Regions from separate parts of the Homo sapiens genome. Here all the other regions are linked to region 2. The links are contacts of gene promoters, found by promoter capture Hi-C in blood cells and fetal thymus (Javierre and others, 2016). All regions are on one chromosome and are shown on one strand. The core of a region is centred on a gene start or on the middle of the fragment in contact, and the rest is flanking DNA. Distances in the headings are between cores, read along the strand shown.

Region 1 (2,826 bases), core at 108-2,607, 600 kb before region 2:
CCTGGGCACAGCCCAGAATAGTCACAAAGAGAAAGAAACAAGTATCTGGGGGTGCTGTAGAAGTCCTTGCACACAATTTCTGCACCTTACTAATCATGCCTCATTTTGAATGATAAACAGAGGCTTTGAACAAAATTATAAACACTGCCAATAATAATTCCTTCTGGTTCCATAGCAGTTCACAGGGGATTCTGATGACTTACAAAACTTAGTCTTGGCAGGTATATGTTCCTTTAATTTCTATTAATGCATTTTGACAACTTTTCATTATCTTTTCTTAAATATTTTTACTGTTTTTTTTTTTTCTTTTTCAGCTAAGACAAAAATCTGAGTTATTTTGAGTAGGAAAATTTGGCATAGCCATCACTGTAATAACACTTTTTACTCAAGTAGCACCTCTCACCCGAGGCTTTCAGAGTGCTTTTGAGTACATTGTATTAGGCCTGCAGGATGGAGGTCAGGGGAAAAGTTATTTGTAGGCACCGTACATTTAAAGCTTCTGTGGACATACAGCCAAGGCCACGGGGAGAAAGTAATTTTCATCTTTAGTATTCTAGATATGGATATCTGTATAAAATGATTCCTAACTTTTCAATGCCATTTGTTAAAAGAGGGAACCAGATATTGTTGAATTTCATGTGCTTTTAAACCTATTTTAAGATAAATCATTTTTAACCCCCTCCAGCAACTGCTTCGAGAACGACAGCAGATGGCCAGCCGTCCCTTTGCTTCTGTTGATGTAGCTCTGGAAGTGGGAGCTGAACAAACAGAGTTTCTGCGAGGGCCATTAGAGGTAGGAACAGCGGTGCTGAAAGAGGACCACTGTGCTTTGCATATTTATTATATTGCTTCTCTAATCTACATCTGCTTATGAAGCCAAACAGAGTCTGATTATCTACAGTTGACAAGATTCAGCTACATATGTTATGCCATTTTCAAGGCACATAGTTTTAATAGTATGACATGAGCTGTAACCAAAGCCACTGGAGAATCTATTAGCCTAGGCAGGAGTGACAGACTGCTCACCTGGCAGCCTTTCTCTGACAGAGGAGCTGAGGGAATTTAAGATATAGGTATGATCGAAGAAACAAAGCGCCTATATTTAGTCTTTGGAGTACTCTGTGCACCAAGTTAACAATTCACATCTATCTTTATTAACAAAGTTTACTTAGAAAAGGTACGAGTGGAGATGAGTTGCATTTTAATTACATAGCTTCATTTTTGAATGTTGAAAAGTGAATGTTTCTCACATATAAAATGAATATTTTTATTTGTGGTTAATTGCTGTATTATTACATTCCTTTATTGCAAAGGCAGAAATAGAGTATGATGAAACAGAAATCATTATATGCAACTAAATATGGTATTAGAATCCAAAAGTAATACATGAAGTGGTTTCTGAAAATAATAATCCCTAAAGATGCAAAATTCGGCCGGGCGCGGTGGCTCACACCTGCAATCCCAGCACTTTGGGAGGCCAAGGTGGGCAGATCACGAGGTCAGGAGATCGCGACCATCCTGGCTAACATGGTGAAACCCCGTCTCTACTAAAAAAAAAAAAAAAAGAAAAAAAAAAAAAAAAATTAGCCGGGCGTGGTGGCAGGCACCTGTGGTCCCAGCTGCTCAGGAGACTGAGGCAGAAGAATGGCGTGAACCCGGGAGGCGGAGCTTGCAGTGAGCCGAGATCCTGCCACTGCACTCCAGCCTGGGCGACAGACAGAGTGGGACTCCGCCTCAAAAAAAAAAAAAAAAAAAAAAAAAGGATGCAAAATTCACAAATTATGATTAATGACTATTCAAAGCATTATGATGCATACTAATTTAATTGTATGTTTATTACTTTTATTTACTTTTATATGTGGTAAGATATATTTAAGTAGAAAGGTTAAGAAACTCTAGAATTGAAACATTTTATTCTCTTTTTTAAAAATGTCTTTATTTGACTAATTTTATGTTGCCATTTTCAGATTTTACTTTTTGTCAAGGAAAATAAAGAATGGAAAAATAGAATCATTCAAAAACCTAGGTATACATATAATAGATTCTGTCTGTAGCATTTTTGTTTTTTCTGAAAAAATAAGACAAAATCACAACTCATGGATGCTACTCAAAGGGTCAGTTTTTAGAGGAAATGAAATATTGGGTGCATGTTTCCCTATGATTTTTAAGACATTTTGTGTACTTGATTTTTTACTACTCTAGATCACAGGTTACCATGGAAGCTTAGAACATCAGGAAATTTGTGTGTATATCTTCTATTTGTTGGGGAAAAAATAACAAAAAAGAATGATTAAATGAAAGTTACAGCAAGTGCTCTAATTTCATTTTGGTTCCTTGTTTCAAATAACTTTTATAAAAAACTTTCACACACAGAAAACTTAGACTATTTTTGGACTATTATAAATTCTTTTTATCCCCATCTGTTTAAAACATTCTTAAATACTGCTAAAAATCGAGTAACAAGAGAAAAAAAATGTAAGTAATGCACACATAGACTAAAGAAGAAAAGAAATAAAGAACTAGAAAATTCACAAACTCAAGGAACAAATATGACACAGACATATGTCACCATAGTTTGTCAGTTGCACGTTAATAGTGTTCAATAATGTATTGTTAGGTACCCATGTGTTCATAATCATCATATCTTCATGTTCTATTTTTTCCAAATGTTGGTTCTTTCTTTATCATTGTGAATTTTTAACCTTAAATTGTATTTTGTAGAGTTAAAAAATGTCTAGCCCTACTTTCTTTTAGTCCATATTTTCTGATATTCCTTATTTCATTTGCAATTTCGCTATATCCTTTTGTTTTACAACTATACTTTCT
Region 2 (2,830 bases), core at 178-2,677:
TTATAAGCCTCCAAACAAGTGCTCAAAGAAAACTGTTCAAACCACAATTTCAGCTTTGTTTTCACCCTTGAACAGATAAGAGTAAAACTTATTTTGGTATATCTAAATTTTACACATGCCTCTTTATGGTGGAGGATTATGAAGTTATAAATATATATTTATGAAGAGTTTTTAATGAAATGGTAAAATGTCTGGGATGTAATAAGAGGATAAAATAGTAGACTCCAAAATTAAATTCATGGCTTCTGATTCCAGATTTCTTGGTTTCAGTTCTCACCACCCTATATGAGGTACGCAACTATGGCAATATACTTAATTGTTCCGTGCCTCAGTTTCCTCAACTACGCTATGAAGGTGATAGCAAAAATTATCTCAAAAGGATATAGGGTGTTCAAAATAGTGCCTGGCAAATAATAACAAATTATTATTATTACTGATTCACAATAATTTCAAATTTATAAAGGAAAAATGAAGAGTGAGGAGGGTTACCTTGAAGGGAATTGGTAAAATGTTAATATGTACTTCTAAATGACATGATTATGGGCAGTTCTTTTCTGCTTTGTATACTTTTCAGTATTTATTCTTTTAAAATAAACTCAAAGAATTAAGTTTTATGCATCAATGGCTTGATGGAAATTAAGGCGGAAATTTGGAATAGGTTAAAATGTATAACTGATTAGACTGCAGCATTAATGAAATATTAATTAAGCCTATTGTGATGTGACAGAATTAACATTTACCTTATTTTACTTAATTTTAAGTACATTCTGACAAATTACTTTTTAAAGTTCAACCAATGTCAATTTTACATTCATAAAGTCAAATGTTTATTTTACTTAATTTTAAATACATTCTAACAACAAATTACTTTTTAAAGTTCAACCAATGCCAATTTTACATTCAGAAATAAAGTCAAATGTTTATTATAATGTCAATATTTCAACCTACTAAAACTAAAAATATTTTAATTTTTGATTTAAAAAATCCCACGCAGAAGTCCCAAAGGTGCCTTTCATGTTTAAGCTTTAATTAGCAACCACTTTGGTCTCTGACACATATTGCGCAGATATTGAAGTGTTAATATTACTGCAGCTTGATTACAAAAGGCAATGATTAATTTTAAAGCAGACAAAAAAGATATGCCCTGATTACAAAGGAATGATTAAGGCGGAATGTCAGACATTGCACATTTATAGCAGTCTTTGCCATCGTCAAAGTATAAGACTTTGTAAAAGTTTATATTTAGAATCACAGTTACTTTGTACTTTATAATATTCAGTGTTTGCGCCTTGGATACCGGGCAACCCTACTCCAACTGGGCCTAAGACCTTTGGGGTTCACATGCCCAGGGCAAACCTGCCCCCCACAGGATGGTCCCAATGAGCCGCCGTAGTTTAAGTTCTCACAGGCAAGGCCCGACCTGAAGCACTGGCTCCAGCCTTAGGGAAGGTTTTGGCCGTGGGTTTTGTTGGCACGTACCATTTTGCTGAAAGACAGAGCACCTTGAGGACGTTATCCCTAAAATGAGAGAGGACTGGGATTGAAAGGCTGACTACAGAAATGGCTGCTGCCCAGACGCCCTCAAAAGCCAAGGTCTTGGCAGCCTTTTTATTTGCCACCAAAGCGAAAAACAAACCCAGGGAGGGACGGAGGCCTGAGTCAGGGGTTCCGCCAGGGAAAAAGGCAGACCTTGAAACTGCCCTCTTAGGGCGTGAGGGAGAAAAGCCCGGTTTGTAAACTGTAACGGGAAACAAAGGCTGAGGGCAGGAAGGGGCAGCAGCGGCCAGCGTCCCTAGACCCTCAGACCCCTCAGACACCGTCTGGCGTCGGGCTCCATCTTCTTGCTGGGCTGGCGACAGAGGGTTGGAGACAGGTCTATCTGGGAATGGTTCTAGAAGAATCCATCTTCTTTATTCTGCTTTCCAGGATCCTCAGAGTTGGTTATAAAATATTTAAGGGCGAGAAAAGGATCGCAGGAGCCAGGCCCTGAGATGAGCTTGGAGTCCCTGTTTCAGCACATCATCTTCACCGAGCATCAGGCGGAGGAGAGTCGCCGTTTGATGCGAGAAGGTCGGGGTATTTCTGTCCTTTGCATGGGGCCTTTTGTCTTCTGATGCTGGGTGCTTGGAGCAGAAGGAAATCCCGAAGGCAGTGGTCAGAGCCGTTAGGGGAGCTTGCATGCCATGCTGAGGGAAAGACAACTGAAAGGTGGCTTATCAAACGCCACCAAAATGGGGACTTTAGAAAGATTGATGTGTTTAAAGATTTAATTTTTATTACAGTAAGGTCGGAAATAACCAGATGTCGTGAAAAAATTAAGAAAGCAACGGAGGAGCTGAATGAAGAGAAAATCAAGCTGGAATCTAAGGTATTGAAATGTAAAGCATACTAATTATCACTTGAAAAAGCCTGCCTTAACTTGACTTTTGGGGGATATTTCAGTGTTTAACCAGTTGTCCTTCAAGTAGGAAGCACGTTACTCTGTGCTGGCTGTTTTAGTTCCATGTTGCCTGGTGATGTTTAAAGTTCTGAATCCCGTGACACCTTCAATTCCAAGACGAATTTGCCCTAAATAAACTAAGGTAATGAAGAATTCATTGTCCATTTTGTGGGATGGTTAAGGTTTTAAAAGAGCACAATGTCATTAGAAGAATCATTATTCCACTTATTTAATAAGTAGTTGGTGCAGTATATACATTTTGAATGATAAATAATTTGTGTGCTATGTTGATATAACAATTGCATGTAAATTTCAAACAAGCCCCTGCCTTTAGTTTTAAAAGTCTCTACCACATTTTAGACATGCCTTGCGTCCGAAGTATACCTTTTC
Region 3 (2,848 bases), core at 206-2,705, 620 kb before region 2:
GGCAACAGAGCGAGACTCCATCTCAAAAAAAAAAAGAAGAAGAAATGTGAGTAGACCAAAAAAAAGAGCAGCTATCCAGAAATGGCCATTACTAGCAATATTCGTCTCAGTGCTTTTTGTATTAAGTTATTAAATTTTAGTAATATTTAAAAGTTAACAAAGTAGCCAGATAAACTAAATACACTAAAGGAAATTTCATATTTATATACACCAGCAACAAATAGTAAATATGATTTTTTTAATCTATATTAGCAACAAAAATGGCTATTTAGGAATAATTTTAACAGATGCTCAAGATTGTTATGTAGAAAATTATGAAGTCATAAAATTGTAAAGTTTTATAAAGCTTTGTTGAGAGGGATTAATGATGACTCAACCAAATGGAGAGGAATAGCTACTTTATGGATAAAAAGATCTAGTAAAGTCATCAATTCTACTGAATCTAAGAAGATTCAGTGTAGTAAAGTTATCAAATTGATCTATAGATTTAATAAAATTCCCATTGCAACATGTTTTTATAAAACATGAAAGATAGTTCTAAAATTTACATGGAAAAGCAAAGTATCAAGAATATCCAAGACACTCTTGACCAGGAAGTATAAGATTAGATGACTTGCCTTTCAAGATACTCAGTTTTGTTTTGTTTTTTAATAAAACTAGAGTAATTAAGAAATGTGATTTTTTGCGTAAGGATAGGCAATTAGATCAAGAGAACAGAATAAAGAGTTCAACAACAAACTCACATAGAATTAAAAACTTGATATGTGTCACTGCAAATTATTGGGAGTAAAATGAATAAATGAGAGCTTCACACAGAAACATAAATGGATGTTAGAAACATAAGCTGAAGTGAAAAAAGCAAGATATAAAGGACCATTCACAGTCAGAGAACATTTATTTGTTTGTTTATTTATTTATTTATCATTTATTATTTTAAATAATTGCAGCTTTTATTTTAGATTCAAGGATACATATGCAGGTTTCTTACATGGGTACATTACGTGACTGAGGTTTGGGATACCATTGACCCCGTCATCGAAGTAGTGAGCATAGTACCCCATAGTTACTTTCTCAGCCCTTTCCTCCTGCTCTCTCATCTCTAGTAGCCTCCTCTGTCTGTTGCTGTCATCATTATGTCCATGAGTGCTCAGTGTTTAACTCCCACTTTTAAATGAGACCATGTGGTATTTGGTTTTCTGTTCCTATGTTAATTTGCTTAGGATAACGGCCTTCAGCTACATCCATGTTGCTGCAAAGGACAAGATTTCATTCATTTTTATGGCTATGTAGAATTCCATGGTGTATATGTACCACATTTTCTTTATTCATCTGTCATTGATGGACACTTAAGTTGACTCAATGTCTTTACCATTGTGAATTGTACTGGAATAAAAATACAAATGTGTGTGCCTTTTTTGGTTAAATGATTTATTTCTTTTGGATATATACCCAGTAATGGGATTGCTGGGTCAAATTGTAGTTCTGTTTTAAGTTCTTTGAGAAATCTTCAAACTGCTTTCCACAGTGGCTGAGCTAATTTACACTCCCAGCAACACTGTGTAAGTGTTTCTTTTTCTCTGCAGCCTCACCAGCATCTACTGTTGTTTGACTTTTTAAAAATATGCATTCTGGCTGGTGTGAGATGGTATCTCATTGTGGTTTTGTGGTTTTGATTTCCATTTCTCTGATGGTGAGTGATATGAAGCATTTTTTCATATGTATTTTAGCCACTTATATGTCTTCTTTTGAGAAGTGTCTGTTCATGTCTTTTGCCCACTTTTTACTGGGGTTATTTGACTTTTCCTTGTTGAATTGTTTAAATTCCTTGTAGATTCTGCATATTAGACCTTTATTGGCTGCATAGCTTGTGAATATTTTCTCCCATGCTGTATGTTGTCTGTTATACTTTGTTGATAGTTTCAGGCTTTAAACCAATAACAGTAAAGAAGGACAAAGAAGGGCATTATATATTGATAAAGAGTTCAATTCAACAAAAAGACTTAACTATTCTAAATATATATGCACTCAACGTTGGAGCACCCAGAATTATAAAACAAGTCCTTCTAGACCTATGAAAATACACAGACAGCTACACAATAATAGAGGGGAAGTGCAACACCCCACTAACAGCATTAGATAGATCATCAAGGCAGAAGACTAACAAAGAATTTCTGGGCTTAAATTCTATGCTTGACCATTTGGACCTAAAAGATATCTATAGAAAACTACACCTGTTAACCACAGAATATACATTCTTCTCATCTGCACATGAAACATACTCTAAGATCAACCCCATGCTTGGTCATAAAACAAGTCTCAATAAATTTTTGAAATTGAAAATATAACAACCATACCCTCAATCCACATTGGAATAAAAGTAGAAATCAATACCAATAAGATCTCTCAAAACCACACAATTACATGGAAATTTAAAAACCTGCCCTTGAATTGACTTTTGGATAAACAACAAAATTAAGGCAGGAATCAAAAAATTATTGGAAATAAGTGAAAATATAGATACAACATACCAAAATTTCTGGGATGCAGCAAAAGCAGTATTCAGAGGAAGCTTATAGTGCTAAACACCTACCTCAAAAAATTAGAAAGATGTCAATTTAATTATCTAACATCACAGCTAGAGGAACTAGAAAAACAAAAACTAACCCCAATGCTAAAGAAGAAAAGAAATAACTGAAATCAGAGCATAGCTGAATAAAGTTGAGACACAAAAATCCATACAAAGAATCAACAAAACCAAAAGTTGGTTATTTGGAAGTATAAATAAGATTGATAGACTGCTAGGTAGATTAGCAAACAAACTGAAGAAGATCCAAATAACCAAAATCAG

Evidence for each region. Contacts are between HindIII fragments. The CHiCAGO score rates a contact against its expected background, and 5 or more counts as called.
Region 1: a fragment that was not itself captured here is called in contact with the fragment with the promoter of CCDC172 in region 2 in 1 of 17 cell types (endothelial precursors); the score reaches 5.2 in endothelial precursors.
Region 3: a fragment that was not itself captured here is called in contact with the fragment with the promoter of CCDC172 in region 2 in 1 of 17 cell types (endothelial precursors); the score reaches 5.3 in endothelial precursors.

Annotation. Positions count from the first base shown.
Region 1 is chr10:115,726,563-115,729,388 of GRCh38, forward strand. It overlaps ATRNL1 (attractin like 1), which reads left to right. Exons shown (of 29, transcript NM_207303.4): 27 at 686-793. Among named protein-coding and RNA genes, the nearest start is that of SNORD158, 470 kb to the right of the region's middle. The HindIII fragment of the contact is 1,726 bases long and covers 495-2,220 here.
Region 2 is chr10:116,323,021-116,325,850 of GRCh38, forward strand. CCDC172 (coiled-coil domain containing 172) reads left to right here and starts at 1,428. Exons shown (of 9, transcript NM_198515.3): 1 at 1,428-1,593; 2 at 1,927-2,070; 3 at 2,283-2,368. The coding sequence starts at 1,992. The HindIII fragment of the contact is 6,159 bases long and covers 1,022-2,830 here.
Region 3 is chr10:115,698,753-115,701,600 of GRCh38, forward strand. The region is part of intron 26 of ATRNL1 (attractin like 1); the gene reads left to right. Among named protein-coding and RNA genes, the nearest start is that of SNORD158, 490 kb to the right of the region's middle. The HindIII fragment of the contact is 2,223 bases long and covers 345-2,567 here.